7 separate regions of the Homo sapiens genome follow, and all the other regions are linked to region 4. The links are contacts of gene promoters, found by promoter capture Hi-C in blood cells and fetal thymus (Javierre and others, 2016). All regions are on one chromosome and are shown on one strand. Each heading gives the region's core, a stretch centred on a gene start or on the middle of the fragment in contact. The rest is flanking DNA. Distances are from core to core; before and after follow the strand shown.

The links. Contacts are between HindIII fragments. The CHiCAGO score rates a contact against its expected background, and 5 or more counts as called.
Region 1: a fragment that was not itself captured here is called in contact with the fragment with the promoter of PLXNA2 in region 4 in 13 of 17 cell types (fetal thymus, total B cells, naive B cells and 10 more); the score reaches 16.8 in fetal thymus.
Region 2: a contact is called between a fragment that was not itself captured here and the fragment with the promoter of PLXNA2 in region 4, in 1 of 17 cell types (fetal thymus). The highest score is 6.2, in fetal thymus.
Region 3: a contact is called between a fragment that was not itself captured here and the fragment with the promoter of PLXNA2 in region 4, in 16 of 17 cell types (fetal thymus, naive CD4 T cells, naive CD8 T cells and 13 more). The highest score is 21.8, in fetal thymus.
Region 5: a contact is called between a fragment that was not itself captured here and the fragment with the promoter of PLXNA2 in region 4, in 15 of 17 cell types (fetal thymus, naive CD8 T cells, M1 macrophages and 12 more). The highest score is 13.7, in fetal thymus.
Region 6: a contact is called between a fragment that was not itself captured here and the fragment with the promoter of PLXNA2 in region 4, in 9 of 17 cell types (fetal thymus, megakaryocytes, M2 macrophages and 6 more). The highest score is 12.2, in fetal thymus.
Region 7: a fragment that was not itself captured here is called in contact with the fragment with the promoter of PLXNA2 in region 4 in 3 of 17 cell types (erythroblasts, M0 macrophages and M2 macrophages); the score reaches 6.5 in erythroblasts.

What each region holds. Positions count from the first base shown.
Region 1 is chr1:207,991,084-207,993,783 of GRCh38, reverse strand. No RefSeq gene overlaps it. Among named protein-coding and RNA genes, the nearest start is that of LINC02767, 33 kb to the right of the region's middle. The HindIII fragment of the contact is 986 bases long and covers 786-1,771 here.
Region 2 is chr1:208,072,906-208,075,605 of GRCh38, reverse strand. All of the region lies in intron 12 of PLXNA2 (plexin A2), which reads left to right. Among named protein-coding and RNA genes, the nearest start is that of LINC02767, 120 kb to the right of the region's middle. The HindIII fragment of the contact is 6,171 bases long and covers 1-2,700 here.
Region 3 is chr1:208,028,865-208,031,564 of GRCh38, reverse strand. PLXNA2 (plexin A2) reads left to right here. Exons shown (of 32, transcript NM_025179.4): 30 at 2,523-2,700. Among named protein-coding and RNA genes, the nearest start is that of LINC02767, 71 kb to the right of the region's middle. The HindIII fragment of the contact is 5,248 bases long and covers 1-2,700 here.
Region 4 is chr1:208,243,032-208,245,731 of GRCh38, reverse strand. PLXNA2 (plexin A2) reads left to right here and starts at 1,348. Exons shown (of 32, transcript NM_025179.4): 1 at 1,348-2,089. RefSeq lists a silencer at 1,231-1,290 and enhancers at 1,809-2,308, 2,309-2,700. The HindIII fragment of the contact is 7,265 bases long and covers 327-2,700 here.
Region 5 is chr1:208,010,418-208,013,117 of GRCh38, reverse strand. No RefSeq gene overlaps it. Among named protein-coding and RNA genes, the nearest start is that of LINC02767, 53 kb to the right of the region's middle. The HindIII fragment of the contact is 3,525 bases long and covers 1-2,700 here.
Region 6 is chr1:208,048,785-208,051,484 of GRCh38, reverse strand. PLXNA2 (plexin A2) reads left to right here. Exons shown (of 32, transcript NM_025179.4): 16 at 62-229; 17 at 383-476. Among named protein-coding and RNA genes, the nearest start is that of LINC02767, 91 kb to the right of the region's middle. The HindIII fragment of the contact is 5,744 bases long and covers 1-2,700 here.
Region 7 is chr1:208,114,436-208,117,135 of GRCh38, reverse strand. The region is part of intron 4 of PLXNA2 (plexin A2); the gene reads left to right. Among named protein-coding and RNA genes, the nearest start is that of PLXNA2, 130 kb to the left of the region's middle. The HindIII fragment of the contact is 8,996 bases long and covers 1-2,700 here.

The DNA of each region.
Region 1 (2,700 bases), core at 29-2,528, 250 kb after region 4:
ACCTTGGAAACATCCACCACACACCCTGCATGCTGCTTGCCCCACCAACCCCTCAAATGTTGCTCACCCCCAGCCCTGGGCTAAAACAGAGCAACAGTGCCTCCTGGTGACCAATGTGGAAATCTGTCTAACTCAGCGTCTCCTCCACATTCCCTAAGCTCCCTTCAGAGCCTGGGCTTCCAGACCTCTGTCCCACACTCCTTCTCAGCAATCACCCCTCATGGCTCAGTTAATTTCACCCTGGACAATCTCATTCCCACATAAATATACATCCTTGTCCGTGCTGGTTTTCTCCCCCCTCTCTCTCCTGTCCAAACAGCCCACCATTTCTTTATTATTTTTGTTACATGTGTGAACAAACTAACACCCTTACCTGAGACCAATAAGAGCTGGCCTCCTTCTATAGCAAAAGGGGAGCGGGAGGAGCAGCCATGAGTTCTGAGCAGAACTTAGATCAAATAGAGAATCAGTCCCATCGACTTCTAAAACCCTGGAAAATACTCAGAAATTCCATTCCGATTTTCCATTAGTCTCTCTCTACTTGCTCATCCTTTTGTAACCATTTTTCTTCAAAACTCCAATATTCTAAATGAAAAATTTTACCTATTTTTATTCAATACTATCATACTTCTCTTCTAATTACTAGCCTTGCAAGAATATTGTTTTCTACTATTTTTCATGGCAAATGCACAGTGTTTAATCTATACTATGGGTTAAATAGGTTTCTGGCAGCCAGCCCAGGAGGCTTGCCAGCACTGATATCCTTGTTGTTATGGGAAAAAGCTTCAGACAACTAACTCAAATGAATTTTTGGAACTAAACCTATTTATAAGTCAGGAACTGCCTGTACTGCCTTGGATGGTTATTTGATTGGTGCGGGGATGTACGTCTTTCTTGTTTCCCAAATGAATTCATTCAATGTGCAACAAATACATATTAAGGTCTATTACAAGCAGGGCCTACACGAGGCCCAGGGGATGCCGTGGTACACAGGACCCAGTTTAGTTTCTGTCCTCACATTCTAGTGAAGGAGATGGTCAGGAAAGCAGGAAAGTCCACAACCAGATGCAATGGGATATGTATCCATCGGGGTTCATCAGAAAAACAGAACAAATACAGATAGATAGATCTTAAGGAACTGGTCCATGCAATTGTCAGGGCTGACAAGTCTCAAATCTGTAGGTCAGGCCAGCAGTCAGAAACTCAGGTACGATTTCTATGTTTCAGTATTGATCCAGAATTCCTTCTTCAGGAAACCTCAGTCTTTGCTCTTAAGACCTTCAGTGGATGAGGCCCACCCACATTATGGAGGGTAATCTGCTTTATTCAGTGTATTGGTTGTCAATCTAAAAATAATCTTCACAGGCCGGGTGTGGTGGCTCACGCCTATAATCCCAAAACTTTCAGAGGCTGAGGCAGGTGGATCGCTTGAGGTCAGGAGTTCGAGACCAGCCTGGCCAATGTGATGAAACCCCATCTCTACTAAATATACAAAAATTAGCTGGGTATGGTGGCATGCACCTGTAATCCCAGCTACTTGGGAGGCTAAGGCAGGAGAATTGCTTCAACCCGGGAGGCGGAGGTTGCCATGAGCCGAGATCACACCATTGCACTCCAGCCTAGGCAATAGAGCAAAACTCTGCCTCAAAAAATAAAAGTAAAAATAAAAATAATCTTCAGAACAGTATCTAGACTTGTATTTGACTAAACAACTGGGTATCGTAGCCTAGCCAAGTTAACACATACAATTAACCATCACATGATAGAAGCTTAGTAAGCCTCAGAGCCCAGAGAAGGTGACTCCTAACCCAGTACGTGTGTGTGTGTGTGTTGGGGGATGGGGTATAATGTATAAGCTGGAGCCTGAAATAGGCTTTAGCTAATAAATGGTAGCAGGGAGAACTAGCACATCCTTTCACATCCCTGGGTGGCCCGTTTGTGACAGGCTCATAGAATACTATGCTATATTTTACTCAGCCCCACTCTGCAAGGTGAACATGCCCCCCACTGCCTCAAGATCCTAGGAGGGGTCACAGCCTGCCTGTCTGCTCTGATTGCTATCGGCAAGTTCAGCCTTGATCCCTGGGGCATTGGTGTCAGGCCAATCACCCAACTGGACAACGGAGGAATGAACATCTCCCCCTTCCTCTCCTTCAGTGGGACTGGGGACTCCTTCCTGGCATCCACTTCACGTTCACATTCAAGAATGTGAATCTCTCCATTTGACCCCTTGTGAACCCAGTCCAGACCAGCCCCATGTGCACCAGCCTGCCTGGTGGCCCCCTGGCTGCCTCCTAGCCCTGAGGACCCCTCCCTGCCTGCCCCTGGCAGAGGGTGTGTGTGAGCATCTGGTGCTGCTGCCTGAGCAGTCCATCAGCCTTCACACCGCTGTCACCAGGAGACGTGGTGGAACGAAAACAAAAGACGTGACAAATTTGTCCTTTTCTCTTTATAATTAACCAAAATATCACAGCATGTAGCAAAGCACGGCTCCTAATTAACAGACAGTCGAGAGGCGATTAAGAAAAAAAGCTGTAGTCCCTTCTCATCACCCCTCCCACATGCGCTCCCACCTCCCCATGTGGCAGCCCACCCCCCACCCCCGTACACTCAGCCCGCCTCCCCTACCCCATAATTATATTTGCAGGAGAGAATGATATTCTGGTCAGACACGACAGACAGAAAGAGCCCAGTCCCCAG
Region 2 (2,700 bases), core at 14-2,513, 170 kb after region 4:
AAGTATGATGAGAAATAGGATATTTACATAACCTTAAGCTACCTTCCCATAAGATACTTGTTAATTATGACAAGAACAATAGTGACTGGGCAGTGAAGAAACGTGGTAGACCTCACCTAAACCAATTGATGAAAGTAAACAAAGCCAGTAATGGGAAAAATCAACCTCATGTACCTTTCAATAGAATGCTCTGAGAAGGACACAACCTCATTTCTATGGTGTTTTTGGCAAGAATATGTAATTTGCTAAAAGCAACCTTTAAGGAGATTTTCTTTTCTTATTATTTTTTTTTTTTTGAGACAGAGTCTCACTCTATCGCCCAGGCTGAAGTGCAGTGGTGTGATCTTGGCTCACTACAACCCCCGCCTCCGGGTTCAAGGGATTCTCCTGCCTCAGCCTTCCGAGTAGCTGGTACTACAGGCACGTGCCACCACGCCCAGCTAATTTTTGTATTTTTGCTGGAGACAGGGTTTCACTATGTTGGCCAGGCTTGTCTCAAACTCCTGACCTCAGGTGATCCGCCCACCTCAACTTCCCAAAGTGCTGGATTTATAGGCATGAGCCACCATGCCCGGCCAACTCATTTTCTTTACTTCAGCTTTCTTGGCTAATCCCTTTGCACTGGCATAGATGTTTTCCCCAAACCTCTGAATCATCGGACTTCCATGAGGCCCATACCCTTTGATGCAGACCTCCTTGTCCCCAGCCTTCATCTTCAGAATGGGTGTCCTCCTTAGTGCAGCCACTCTGTGCAGTAAATAGAAGCCATTTACTACAAAGATCCTTCTTGAAGGATGAAAAGAGAAGGATTCTAAGATGGCCTGTGATGGCAGTTGGGGGTGGCAGAATCTCCAGTCCTGGAAATAAGTGGAAGCTGGAATGGATGCTGTCCTTCCTGGGACAGCAGAGAAATAAATGAGATGATCTCAAAGGAGTTCTACGTTAGAAAAAGAAGTGGGCTCACGCATAGTTAGATAAACAGCTGTGTTATTCCTTAACCCCTCCTTACCCCATCTTCTCCATGGCAACCAGGCCCACCCGAGGGACCCATCTTTTATGGCAGCTTCATGTAGAACAAGTTGTACAGGCTATTGAATTTCACAGTTTGCATAAACTTCAGGTTAGGACCCCCTCAGGACTTACCTTCTGCTCCTCAGCCAGCTCGTGGTGTGATAATGATGCTGTCCCCCATGGGAGGCCTCCTGAGCTGCTCCCATTTCCAGCTGTCATCGTGGGTGTCTGTGCACGTGTCACCTGTTCAACCCTAGGAACAGGAGACGTGCAGAGGATTGGAAAGCCCATGAGATGGCTGGCCCGCCACGTTTCCGTTCCCCCAGCCTATGCTTCAGGACCTGCTGGGACCTCAAAGAGGAGGGTGTTAGGAGCCACAGACTGGAAAGGAAGGCCCAGAGAAAAACATTTCTTAAGGGGCCATGAGTAGGCAGGATCCAGCAGAAAAGGAAGAGACTGAATATTTTCTCAGGAAGATAAACTCAGGGAGGGTAAAGGGATTTTGGAGCTCACATAACAGAGGTCTTCTTCACTCCAAGCGAGTGTATCAGTTTCCTAGGGCTGCCCTAGCAAAGAACCACAAACAGGTGGCTTAAACAACCTGAATATATTTGGAGGTCTGAACTTCAAGATCAAGGTGTCAGCAGCGTGGGTTCCTTCTGAGCGCTGTGAGGGGGAATCTGTTCCAGGTCTCTTTCCTGGCTTCTGGTGGTTGCTGGGAATCTTTGCTGTTCCTTGGCTTGTAGAAGCATCAACCTGACCTCTGCCTTCATGTCCACATGGCATTCTATCTCTGTGTGTGTGTCTGTCTCCCTATTTTTTTTTTTTAAATAAAGACCCTGTCATATTGGATTAGTGCCCACTCTAATTATCTCATTTTAATACGATTACCTCTTTAAAGACCCTATATCCAAAGAAGGTGCCATTCTAAGGCACTGAATTAGGTCTTCACCATATGAATTTTGAGGAGACAAGAGTCAAACCATAAGAGTGAGCATTCTGATCAGAGGGGGGAGATGCCACCATTCCAAATATGTTAATTCACTCATTAAATGAATATTTAATTAATGACTACTGTATGCCATGAACTATGCTGGGCTTGGAAGTTGTCTGTCACATGTATATGTGACTCCTGGTTAAGGAGGCTAGGTTATGCAGCCTCTTCCAATGTAGCCCCAGCCTATGCTTGAACATTGGCCACCTGGAAGAGGCTGGAAACTGACTGCCCTGCAGGCCATTGTGCTTCCTCCAAAAGGCCTAGGGCAGACTTCTAATCTCCACCCTCTGCAGTTGTGTCCTGTGTAGAAGGACTGAAGCAGGGATACAGGTCTTCTGTTAATGAGGACACTAACCTCAGGACCTCAGGCAAGGGACATGAGCAGACCAGCCAACATTCTAATTCTGGGAGTCTTCATGATAATTGCTTCTCTTTAATAAGACTCTCCCATGTGCCAGGCTCTGAGCCTACTCCTTCAAACAACCCTGCAAGTTGGCTATTATTATCTTCACTTAAGAGTTGGGGAAACAGTTCTTAGAGAAGTAAAGAATTAGCCCAGTGTCACACACACATCTGGTTAGTGGCAGAGCAGAAGGCCGACTTCCTCCACCACACCATGGTGAGGGGGATGGAGGGCTATTCCTTGGCTATACATTTCCCCACCTCATCCCACCCCAAGAGTACCTAAAATG
Region 3 (2,700 bases), core at 76-2,575, 210 kb after region 4:
AGGTGCAGCCTGGAGAGGCCTGGAGCTAAGAGGGATGAGGACCAGGAGATGGGAGGGTGGGAGGATAGCCTATTCTCGGCTGGGGCTGGGTGATCCAAAGCTCCTGGAACAAACAGTGCACATATGCTCTGCAGAGCCCACACGGTCCCCAGCTGCCTGTGCCAAGTGGGGCCTGCCTGGCTTGAGGCACAGCAATAGGATGCACCCTTGAATTCTGCCCCTCCAGGTTGTGACCAGTACCCCAAGAAGAGCCTCCTCCCCTGGCTCTGAGATCTCTGGTTCTCAGGAGAAGGGAGCTGGGGGAACCTATGCAAAGAGCTGCATTTGAAGCCTGCAGCAGAGCTTCACAGCCAGACATCGTGGGGCATTCTGAGTGGGGCAGTTCTAAGGCACTTCCTGAGATGGGGAATCCCTGAATTAAACTGAGACGCCCGGTGAAGTTGGTCAGCACCGGAGAGGGAGTTCACACCTGCTATAGACTTGAGCCCACTGACAGGGAGGATTTCATTGCAAACTTGATCTCTTAAGGCCAAGTGATTATCCTGGCGCCATAGCTTTCAGGAAGCAGCAGGCAGAATGCCCTGCAGGCATGACTCTCTCCCCTAAAGTCATCTCTGCAACCAGACCAGCAGTGGGAGAAGCCCTCAGGCCCCTGGTATGAGACTTTATCCTCATGGGTTTTGAACCTGGACCACAGACCAAGCTAAGGACTGGCTTTCAGGTCAGACAGGACCCGGCCAAGAGCTGGCATCAAAAGGCTTCCTTTGGGAAAGAGCACAGAGAGGGGAGAGGGGAGGTCCAGGCATTTGGGTTGGGCAGGCAGCCCACGCAGCTGTCTGGAGTTAGCGGTCTCCTCAGAAAACAGAGCCGACACAGATGGGCCCAGGCTGTTATTTGGGAATCAAAAGTCCTAGCAACCAACAAAACACTTTGGAAAAAGCCAACCCCAGCCCCATCTCTTCCTTCCTCCTCCCGGGTCTTGTGGTCGCTGAGCCTTCCTCAGTCTGCAGCTTTGATCACAGTGGAGTGAAACGAACAGGCTGGGGTGGCCCTGGGGTTAAGAGCCCACAGTCCACTTTGCCAGGACAGGCCTTCCATCTGCATTCCCTGGACAGCACATGCCTGTCCCCTTTGCTTTGGAGCATCCCCGGCCCAGCGCTGGGAGAGGGCACTTCAGGGGAAATCAAGAGAAAGTCCAGGGTTATCCGCATCTCTGTGCCTTCTGTGTGCTGGCCAGATCCAAGTAATAGAAATGGACTACCCTGGCATCGTGGTGTGGAGAGAGTTTCCTTAACCAGACCTCAATAGCAAATGTCCAGGGAAAGATTACCAGAAACTACCCAAGGCTGCCAGAAGAAGGGGAGGGTAGAAGAGATGAGTCAGCTCTCAGCTGCAGCAGCTTCTCCCAGGCTAGAGGAAAGTGAGGGATCCTGTTGTGTTTTGGAAGATAGGCAGAAATCATCGTGGAAGGGCTTGAGGCTGGGTAAAGCAGATCTTCCCCAAGACCTGGCACTACTGAGACATTTGGGAAAGTTTGGGGCCCATGAGAGTCAAGAGAAGATGAAGGAGGGGAGAGAAGAAGAAGCTGGGGAGCTGGGAACATCATCTCAGGCTGGAGGACAAGCCTGTGACAGGACCGGTTCCACAGAGGAGTCAAAAGAGTTAAAGCCCAGAAGGCAGCTGGAAGAGAAGGCAAAGCTGGAAAAGGAAGTAAAAGCAGCAGCTGTTCTGATTTTGAAGGAGAGTAAATGGGCTTATTTGCTTTATGGTCTAAGGAGCAGAGAAAACTCATTCTCCTCTGGTTATAAATTCCCGAGTTGCAGAAGGAAGTCTCCTAACTACTGATCGGTTCCTCTTGGGGTGGGAAAATCTCTGAGCTACAGTGAGTCATTCCCAGGATGCCAACAATGGCCTCCACTTCTCCCTCTGCCCCTGCCCAGATACAAGAACGCCCTGGGGAGAGTCATGAAAGAACTTCCCCCAGGGGAGCCCATTCCTCGGCCCAGCCAGGCCAGGCCAGCCCTGGGAAGTAGCTTGGGCAGCCGGGCTGGGCGGGGAGCGCAGGTGGCGCCCTTTGTGCCTGCTCCGAGGCTGAGCCTGGGGCTCCTGGCTGCCTTCTTCCGGACAATGGCCACGGGCACTGTGAAGGGACTCCAGGAGCCTGGTGGCTTTGTGTGAAGCCCTGAGAAAATGTGCTGTCCTCTGTTCTTGGGCTTGCCTAGGGGCACAGAGTCCTTTAGAAAAGTCTCCCAGAAGGGAACAGAACACACCCAGGCCCACCCCTCGGATGTTAGAGATCAGGGTCAGTGCCCCCATTAGGGTACAAAGTGCCTCTCCTTCCATTTCTCCCAGGTCAGTAACAGCTTTGGCTAAATTAACCCTGGCTGGACCCATTTTCTTCCATTTTACTCCTTTGCCCCTTCAGGTGGACAATTTGACCTTTGATGGGGAAGAATATCAGTGGGCAGCAGAAGGGGCACGGCCCGCATGCATTCTCAAGTCTTCTCTGCCTTTCCCCACAGCCTCCCTCTGCGCTTCTGGGTGAACGTGATTAAGAACCCCCAGTTCGTGTTTGACATCCACAAGGGCAGCATCACGGACGCCTGCCTCTCTGTGGTGGCCCAGACCTTCATGGACTCTTGTTCAACGTCAGAGCACCGGCTGGGCAAGGACTCCCCCTCCAACAAGCTGCTCTATGCC
Region 4 (2,700 bases), core at 99-2,598:
AACACAAATTTCAGCTAATTACAATGAAGAACTTTTGAAGAATTCGCTGATTTCTGCAGATGTTGGAGTAAAGCCTAGATCCCCCAGTCCTGTGTTGAATGTGCGATTGTTCGAGATGACTGGTTAGTCTAGATTTCCTTTTCTTCTTCCTCTCTCTCTCTCTTTTCTCCGGCTCCCTTTCTTCATCCTTCCCTCCCTTCGTTTCTTCTGCCGCTACTGCTCTAAGAATTTGGTGCAATTGCTTTTAGGTATTCGCAGTGATTTTTGTTGTTTTTTAGATTTATACCACTGAGGACTGTGGCCACGAGAGGGCAGTAGAGGAAGCTTATCAGAATACTTGGACAGGAGTAAACTCGTGTGCGCTCTAATCGCGAGCAGGGACTACGCAGATCCTGCGAACTCGCTGGGGTCCAGCTTGCAGGCCGCTTCCGGAAAGCCGTGTCTAGAGGCTGCGGAGTTACTGAGACTGTGTGGCGAGGAATCAGTGGCCTTGAGGGCACCGAGACATTGTCATCCAGAATCCCGAAACCTCTCACCTTAGGTTATTAAAATAAGTTATCTTATTGCCACCCCTCTGATTACCCTGCCAGAAAGATTCTCTGAATTGGATATAGAAAGCTCTTCTCCCGTCCCCAATGCCCCCATGCAAGTCGGGACTTACCAGATGCCCAGGATCCCTATCAGGGCTGGAAGTTTGAGATTCAATTCAGAGCAAGGTTCATCTTCTCATTGCAATAATAATAATAACAACAACTTCAAGCCTTATTTGACAGCTTGTTGGCCTTTTTCTTTTTTTAATTTACAAGAAGAGGAAATTTGCTCCCACAAATTCCAAGACTCTAGTCTCAACCCTACCAGACAAGCCCCGTTCCTCCCCACTCACCCCTCACTCAAATTACAGATGAAGAGGGAGGTGTGCAGGATGTGTGCGGTGACAGGTGATGCGAATGGGGGGGATTCCCTGTCCCTACTGCCCTCACCCACTCTTCCTGTGTTCTGAGCTCCCCCCTAACCCCAACGCTAGACCTTCTATTCCCCCGGGGGCCAAGCCAGCTGGGCTCGCAAGGCCCGACTCGAATTCCCGGGCCCTGGCAGCATTTTCCTTGCCCCCTTGGCTACTTAAGGTGGCCGATGGGTCCGGGCTGAGCTGGGCGCAGGACAGGCAGCCGAGCGGCCTCCGGATGCCAAACCTGCTTCTCCTTTGTTGACAGCTTGCGGAGGAGGAAGTCCGCGCGGGCGGGGGAGGGGGCAGGGTGCTGGCGGTGGCGGGCGGTGCCAGCAGCGGGCGCGGCCCCAGCCCGGGCGGACGCGGCCGGCGGGGAGGGGGTTAACGCGCGCGGCCTCTATGATAATGAGCTGCATGGTGAAATAGGGAGGCCGGCGCTCAGGGCTCCTCCGCCGCCGCCGCCGCCGCCGCCGCCGCCGCCACCGCGGGAGCCAGAGCTGCCGGGAGGAGCGGCATCCGCGCCAGACTGGAGCGGGAGGGCGGCGGAGGGCAGTTGCTGGGAATTTTTCAGCCGAGAGGGCGAGCGATCCGGAGAGAGACCCCGAGAGCTTGGGAGCGGTAGGGCGTGCGAGCGCCGCAGCCAGCGGAGCAAACCTCGAAATAGATCTGGAAAGCCAGGCTCCCGGAGGAAATGGGACTGTGAACGAACCGGAGAGCAAGAAGGGAAGGAAGCGCCGGGATTGCTGATGTCAGAGGAGCCCGGAAAGTCGCGCTGGAAAAATCTGAAGACAGCCGGGGCTCTGCTTCTTCCTCAGGAGAGACACCGCCGGCCGCCCCCACACGCCCCCTCGGCGCCTCCGGGTGCCCCCTGAGAGCCGGCGACAGCGCCCAGCCGGGCTGCTGCGGGGCGACGGAGGACTGAGGGGCGCGCGGAGCGGAGACCGAGGAGCGACTTCAGGAATACAGATAAGTGTCTGGTGGCTTGACGTGGATTTTAATGAATTTGGACTCCATGTGGATTTGGTCGTCTCCCTGATTCCGAGCTGCGGGCAGGGAGAGGGGCCTCGCGCCGCCCTCAGCAGCCGGCGGCGGCCGAGGTAGACCGAGCGGGGACGGAAGGACAGACCGACGTCGCCGAGCTGGGTAAGCGGCGGCTGGGCCGGGCGCTCGGAGTCGGCAGCGCCCTCCGCCCTCTCCCCACAGGCGCGCACACCCGTGGCGGCTTCTCCCGCGCCCGCCTCTTTGGGGTCCCGGCCCCAGAAGACCCGGCTTGGCCGCGGCGGGCGAGTCCCCGCGTGGGCTCGGCCACTTTCGCGGGCTGGAGCGCGGCGTGCGCGCGATCGCAGGCTCACTGGAGCCGCTGCCTCCCGCCGAGGGCTTCCCGGCCGGCAGCCCGCCGGCTTCCCGAATGCGGGCTGAGGGCGGCAGCAGCGCTCCGCGGCGCGCCTCCACCGCGCACCTGCCGGCGCTCTGCGGCTTTGGGGAGCTCGGGGCGGCAAGGCTGTCCTGAGAGCTGGAGCCCAAAGAGGGCCTCGGTGGCACCAGCGAGACAGCCCAAAGCCACACTGGCCAGCGATCGATTTGGGGGCGTTCACTCCAGTGCCGGGGTCCCTGGTGGCCGCCGGCTCTCCCTTCCGATCGGGGACTGGAGATCAGGGGAATGGGAAAACATCATTTGCGCGGGTTCCATAAGGCTCAGGGAGAGATTCCTAGGCACTGAATGGGTCTAAGTGTTTCATCTCCCGGGGCTCCCT
Region 5 (2,700 bases), core at 154-2,653, 230 kb after region 4:
ACAACATAAGGGGGAAAAGAAAGTAGCATGTCATTTTCCCGAACGGTAGGACTGAATAGTATAAAGATGCAAATGCTTCATGAATTAAGATATATATTTAATTTAATCCTTTACAAAATCCCAAATGAGATTTTTTTTTTCTAGACAGCATGACTCTAAAATTTATCTGGAAAATACATGAACAGAAGTAGTCTTTTTTCCTCCTAAAAAACAGAGTAACTATGGGAGATTTTTCTGCCAGATATTAAAATGCTATATTTCATACACAAATATGTTGTATTTTTAAATGTGTGAATGAATAAAGATACAGTAATTAAAACAGTGTGATTGTAATAGAAGAACCAACTGAACAGAATAAGACAGCTCAGAACAGTCTACTGTATATATATGTTTAAAAATTTAGCGTAAGCCAAAGGCAGCATCTAAGCCAATGGGGAAAGGAAGCCTTGTTTTTTTTTTTCTTAAACAGGGTCTCACTCTGTCACCCAGGCTGGAGTGCAGTGGCACGATCTCAGCTCACTGCAACCTCTGCCTCTCAAGCTCAAGGGATCCTCCCTCCTCAGCCTCCCACGTAGCTAGAACTACAGGATGCACACCACCACGCCCAGCTAATGTCTGTATTTTTTGTAGAGATGGGGTTTCACCATGTTGCCCAGGCTGGTCTCAATTTCCTGAGCTCAAGCCTTGCACCCACCTTGGCCTCCCAAAGTATTGGGATTACAGGCGTAAGCCACCACGCCCAGCCAAAAGCATTCCTTAATAAGTGATTCAGGGATAAATGTTTAACTATTTGGGGAAATATCAGTCTAAATCCTTACCATGATGCAACACAGAACAAAATAAATCCCAAATAAACTAAAAAATTAAATGTGAAAAAATCAAACCTGACTGGGCAGTGGGGTTGCTCACACCTGTAATCCCAGCACTTTGGGAGGCCTAGGGAGGAGAATCACTTGAGCCCAGGAATTTGAGACCAGCCTGGGCAACATAGGGAGATATCACCTCTACAAAAATAAAAGAAAAAACAATTCTAAACCTTCTTAACCAGGAGTGGTGGTGTGGGCCTGTAGTCCCAGCTACTCCAGAGGCTGAGGTGGGAAGATCACTGGAGCTCAGGGGGTCAAGGCTGCAGTGAGACGGGACTGCCCCACTGTACTCTAGCCTGGGCGGCAGAGCAAGACTCTGTCCCCCGACCTCAAAAAAAAATCATAAAATACTTAGAATAAAATATTAGTATGTTTATCTCAGTGTGGAGATGGAATTTCTAAGTATAAAAGCAATTGGAGGAATCACAAAGAAAGAATAGATATATTTGGCTGCATATAAATTCAAACCATATCTATAAAAAACATCATAGAAAATAAAGTAAACAGCAAAATCAACCTGAGAAAAAATGTCTTCAACAAAAACATCAAAAAGTTAATGTTCTTAAAATACAAAATAGCACTTATACACATAAAAAGCCCCACTAAACCCAAAAGAAAAATGTGCAAAGGATGAGAATAGACTATTTGCAGAAGAAATGCTAATGATTATTTAGACACACAAAGAAATGTTGAAGCTCACTAGCAATCAATATATGTGAAAAAAACACAATAATGAAATACAATTTTTGCCCTATTAAATTAGCAAATACTTGTAAAAGTCAATGTGGATTATTGATGAAGGAAGGTGTACTACAATGCTGGGCCCTCTCACACTATTAGAAATTTGTACAATATTTCTAGAACACAAGATGGCAGTAAGTCTCAAGGGCCTTTAAAATATTCATTCTCTTTGTGGTAATAATTTCACTTCCATTCTGAGCAGGTAAAAACAAGGACAAACATATATGTACATGTCTTTTATTTAAAATAATAAGTAGAAACAAATTAAATACTGCCAATATGGGAGAGTTAAATAAATTATAGTATGTCCACAAGATGAAATATTATATTCTGATTTAAAATTATGTCCACAGAGAATTTTTAATGATTTGGAAAACTGTTCACAGCATGTTACAGTGTGGTCTAAATAGGGGAGTAGGATTATGTGAGAATTTTACTTGTTACTTTATTCTGTTTCCCAATCACCCTCCCAAATATCTACAAGTGTAATGACAATTGTAATAAAAAAAATACTGTACTCCAAAACTCCTCATCAGCCACAATTACTTTCATAGAATAGCAGAAGGTCCTCTCCCATTCCCTTATCTCAGGGAAACTCCACTCCACCTCCCAGGTCCTAAACTAAATTAGTGACGTCTTTTCCTCCTCTGAGGTTGCCCAGCAAAGAAGGTGGATGGTGACTCACAGTGTGGGCTTTGTAGGAGGCCACAAGACCCCAAAACCTAGCATTCAAGAAAAGGAAAAGCAATTCCCCAGACTTTGGCATTGGTAGAACCTGCCTGGTTTCCTATCTAAGCCCGGCCAAGCATGAATGTGGATCAGTGACCTTGGGACTATCTCTGCATTGAGCAGGAACGTAGGCTCCAGAAGGGCAGGTTCTGTCCTGTCCACCACTGTGTCTCCGAGGCCTATCTTATGATATAGGATTCAGCAAATATTGAATGCATGGATGCACAAGTTTCTTCTTCTATGCAGTGGATGAAATAAGCCTGTTTCACAGAGTGGTTTGATGTTTGTAAACAGTCAGGCCACAGTAGATGCTCCGTAGAGGTTGGTACCCATGCCACACGTAGCTGACCACAGCAGAGGCCTC
Region 6 (2,700 bases), core at 30-2,529, 190 kb after region 4:
CAGTGGGCACCTCTTGTTGCCCATGCCTTTCTTCTCAACCCTCCTGCTGTCTCCCTGTCAGGAGGTCAATGAGTGAGATCGTGTGTGTCTCACCCCCATCATCCAATGGCCTTGGCCCGGTCCCTGTTTCTGTGAGTGTCGACCGAGCCCATGTGGATAGCAACCTGCAGTTTGAGTACATAGATGACCCTCGGGTCCAGCGCATCGAGCCAGAGTGGAGCATTGCCAGGTGAGGTGGAAGGTGGGAGGGATGCACCTGGAAGCCACCCAGCATGATCCCTGCAGCCCAAGTCTGGCTCATGAGAGGGATCCCTAAGGTGGAGGTTCACCATGCCAGATTTGAGGGGGTTTTTTACCTAACCGAGCCTCTGCCTGTTTTCAGTGGCCACACACCCCTGACCATCACAGGCTTCAACCTGGATGTCATTCAGGAGCCAAGGATCCGAGTCAAATTCAATGGCAAAGAATCTGTCAATGTGAGTAACTGTTGGTCTGCCCCAGCCTTTGGTAAACACAGCTCTGTGTTGATGTTTTGCAATGGGATGAGCTCTGGGTTAGGCACTGGAGCCTCTGAATACTGGAGAGGAAAACTGGCTTAAGACTCTGAGCCTGGAATCATGGTCCAAATACCTAAACCTTATAATTTTTTTTTTTTTAAGACATGGCCTCACCCTGTCACCTAGGCTGGAGTGCAGTGGTGCAACCACAGCTCACTGCAGCCTTGACCTCCCGGGCTCAAGAGATCCTCCCGCCTCAACCTCCTGAGTAGCTAGGACCACAGGCGCATGCTTGGCTAGTTTATTATTATTATTATTTTAGAGATGAGGTCTCTCTCTTTTGCCCAGGCTGGTCTCAAACTCCTGGGCTCAAGTGATCCTCCCGCCTTGGCCTCCCAAAGTGCTGGGATTATAGGCATGGGCCACCATATTCAGCCCTACAATGATTTTTATATTATAATGACAGTACAATTTCTTGTCAGAAGGTGATATAGTGAGTGTATCAAAGTACTGGCTTCTGAGTTTATGATACAGCACAAAAGGACTCCTGTTTTATGACAGGTTGACTTTGAGGTCCAGTGAAAACCCATATTGGAAGTGGTTGGAGAAATTCTGGCTCCAGATTCAGACATGTCTGGAGAGGAAGCAGGGTTCTGCCATCTATTAGCTGTACAAGCATGGTCAAGTCATTTAACCTCCGGATCCTCCACCTCTCAGCTATGAATGGTGACAAGCAGACCTGCCTCAGCTTCATAACCTGCCAGCCCGTGGCTGGCATAAGGTTGGCAGTTGATAAATGCTAGTCACTGCATCAGATAACTCCACCTAGGTTGCTAAGATGATAAGTTTGGACATTTTATATTAGTCTTCCATGCATAGCCATGTAATTTTTATAATTTTTAAAAAGTTGTCTGTATCGTAGGGATAGAATGTCTGATATGTTGTCAATTTTTTATCATTTTTCTAGGCTCCATCTCACTCTTTCAGCCAATATTTTTTGAAACATGATTGTATTTGTAATTATATTATAGCAGATGCTACTATGGCCATTATTTTTCATAGAAATTACTATCATTACTGCTTTGACCTTCAGGGGCTTGACTAGACTAAGATGGAGATGGAGAAGATGGTGTTATGTCTCCCCTCTTACCCCTGACACATTTCCAGGGTACTTGAGGCTTCCATAAGAAACACAGAGATACACAAAATGACAGAGTGTTAGAAGGTTAGATATAGAAAGGTCTCAGGGATCATCTGATGCAACCCCTTCATTGTGTAGCAGAGGAAACTAAGTCCAGAAAGGTTAAATGACTTGCCCCCAATCATACAGGTGACTGGTGGAAGGGCCAAGGTGGATCCCAAACATCCAGACTCTTCGTAACTAGGCCACATGAAATGCTGGTGGGCTTGACATTACCATCCTGCTGGAGATGTTGGGGAGCACTTGTACCACACCTTCAGTATCCACCATGGTCACTCCTTTTTGGGCTAGGTGAGCGCATGCCTCCTTCTGCCAGGTGTAGAACTTGATCCATGGGTAAAAGAGCCTAGGCCCCCACTCCATTTCCAGACTGAAGCTCAGGGTCCCCAGAAACTCCCAGGTAACTCCAGAGTCTAGGGTGAGGTATGGGAACAAGAATGGTAAGTTCACACCCAGGAAGGATTTAAAAAAAAAAAAAAAGCAAGCAAATTAGGTACATGTTTTAAAATATAGGTTTTATTGTTATTCAGGTATGGCAAGGCCAGAGTATAACTTGTTCTACTCATAGATCAAATCCCAAGAGAAGAGGGAAGTCCATGCCCCAGGGGTCACAGGGGGAAGCACCAGGGTTGGTCTGCCTGGAGGCGGAGGGAGAAACCGTGGCAAGAGTCTTTATGTGGTTTCTGCAGGAAGGAACAGGCATAGCAGGGTAAGCAAGTTTAGGATCAGCTAGTTTGAGTCATTTTAGCAGGCTCTGGGGCCCAGGGCTGTCCCTAGATGTTTGGTGCCTGGTCCCAGAATGATGAGGGCATGAGGATAGTGTGGAAAGGGGCAGTTGAGCTGTGGGGTCTGGATTGGTTCGTGCATATGAAAGGCACGCTCACAGGCAAGTTATTTGCTATCTCTAGGATTTTGCCCTGGGAGGGACATTCCCTCCCCAGTCAGCAAGGCCCCAGATGTCAAAGCATCAGCATACAGAAAATAAAAGACGTAATTAATACA
Region 7 (2,700 bases), core at 7-2,506, 130 kb after region 4:
GCAGTGGTGTGATCCCGGCTCACTGCAACCTCCACCTCCCAGGTTCAAGCTATTCTCCTGCCTCAGCCTCCTGAGTAGCTGGGACCACAGGCATGCACCACCACACCCGGCTAATTTTTGTATTTTTGTAGACACGGGGTTTCACCATGTTGGCCAGGCTGGTCTCAAACTCCTGAACTCAAATGATCCTGCCCAGCTTGGCCTCCCAAAGTTCTGGGATTACAGGCATAAGCACCTTGCCTGGCCCCTTTAATCCTTTCATTCCATTCATCTGGGTCAGGGGATCCAGGGTCAGGGGCAGAAGAATCATGAACCTGAATCTTGAGAATCTACTCTGAAAAATTGTATGGCAGTCTGCACTTTACCTTAGAACACAGCATTATTGTATCATGGTGCCTTCGTGGATGCCTTAATTTTAACATCCAATAATATTTAACAAATGTGAAAACTGAGGCCCAGGGAGGTTAAGGGACTTGCCCGGTACAGTTGAGTATGTGGTGAGGCTGAGCTACGTTCTTCTGACCCTAACAGCTATGTCCTTTCCGTGACACCAAAAGCCTCTGCTGTGTTGTAAACATTGACTATTAAAAAATTTTAAAAGCCCTCAAGTCACCGAATGGATACTCGCAGAATACCAGGGGGCCTCAGCCACACCTAGAGAACTTTAGCATAGTGCATTTGATTAAAGAGCTTAAAATAAAACCTGGATCATTGGGCAAGTATAATTAGCTTCTCAGCAGGTATTTATAGACCTATTTCGTACAAGAAACTGAAGTGGGAGCATACAGAGATGTCTCATAAGAAGAAATAAAAAGAAGAGCCCTATAAGTAATCTAAAAAGTTACCTACCTAAGAAGAGTATAAAAAGTGCATTAGACTCATGCCAATTGGGCAGGCAGTCAGATTCTCAGTTCAGAGAGAGAAGTAACAAAGGTTGATCAAGGAAGACTTCCTGGAGGAGGGAGGGCCCAGGGATTTGCACATGAGCGGGAGAGGGGAGGATGTTTGGATTAGCAGGAATGTATGAGCAAAGGCATGGAGGCAGGACTACACAAAGCAAGAGAGGAGGCCAGCCTGGCAGGAGTGCAGTTGACATTGACCAAAGGGGTCAGGAGTGGAAACGTCAGCCTGGGTGAGGAGCAGAATTTAGAAGTCTGAAATGTCACACTGAGGTGTTTGGACTATAAACTTCCTGAGATAGGCAGAGTTTTCTTGTTGTTTTATATTTTATTTTTATTGTTGTGTTTCTTTAGCTGAAAGAAACTGTGTTTTGTATTATTGGTACAAAACACTGACTCTTGAAAGCCTTCCCTGATTTGTACTTCCCTTTTGCTCCTATAGCTTTTACCATGTCTCAATCATATTGCTAATATTTCATTATAGTTTGGGAGGTGTGTCTGTCTTCCTGACAACACTATGAGTACTTTGGGATCAAGGTTGTATCTGTGCATTCTGTGAACTTAATGTCTACACAGACTGTATTGTAGGTGTTTAATACATATTTATTAATAATAACTATCAGCTATCAGCAAGGTACAGGGCTTAGCATTTTCTAACCCATGCCATCCTTCATGTCTAAGAGGCGGTATGGTGTAAAAGTTGAGAACATGGGCTCTGTAGCCAGCCTGCCTGAGTGCGAGTCCCAGCTGTATAACTTACTGAATACATGACTTTAAACAACTTCACTGAGACTCTCTGTTCCTCAGTTTCTTCTTCAGCTGCAGATAACTTTTATACAACTTATATATATAGCAGTCTGGTGGATGAATGGATGGATGAATGGATGAACTCAGCGGATAGACTAATGATTGAGTAAATGAATGAATAAACAAGCAAATGCACAAAGTATATGTGCCCGGTGTATTTCTACCACATTCAGGTTGACTTGGTGATAAATCAAATATATCAGAATGCAGATTCACAAGGTCACGCCAATCAACCCACACTGACTAACCCCTGGGTACAAAGCACTGAGGCCATGTGGTCATTGCTGCCTCCATGGAATGGTCTTGATCCAACTGACCAGTCTATAAAGGTTCCCAAACCAACACAGAGGCACTGGATCCAGCAAAGCCTAGGAGCTTTCCTGCCTCATATCACCACCTTGCCAGAGTTGAATGAATGAATGGCAGGAATGAATAAATGAGCTCTATACCAAAAGGAAATTAAAATGTTCCAATGTAAGTATAGGAGACTCTTGTTTCCCCTTAGGCAGAGATTTAATACATATTCTTATCCTCCATCTCCCTCCCGCTCCCTCTATCCTTCCTTCCCTCTCTCGCTCTCTCTCTCTTTCACACACATACACACACACTCATCTACTCACTCACTGCCTTCTAGGAAGCTGTGATGGACAAGACAATTCTCTATAGTTCTGCCCAAGGGAACCAGTCACTCAGCATACCAAGAAAAGTCAGAGAGAATACTATCGGGGGGTCTGATGTGTCAGAGAGGACAAGATGCCCAAGTTTTGGATGGTTAGAAAGGAAAGCTGCGAGATAGTGGAGAAGATGCATTCCATGGTGTTTGCTGAAAACCAAAATTCTGTTTTACAGCATGAGGTTCCTGTGGCTTCTTACCTACTCAGAGTCATACAACAGTTTAGGCAGAGAGGTAGAGTCTGGTCTCAGATCCGGCACCTATGGATAATGCTGAGCTAGCTCCCTGCTTCCTTGTGTACATAGCTGTTGACCTGGTGCA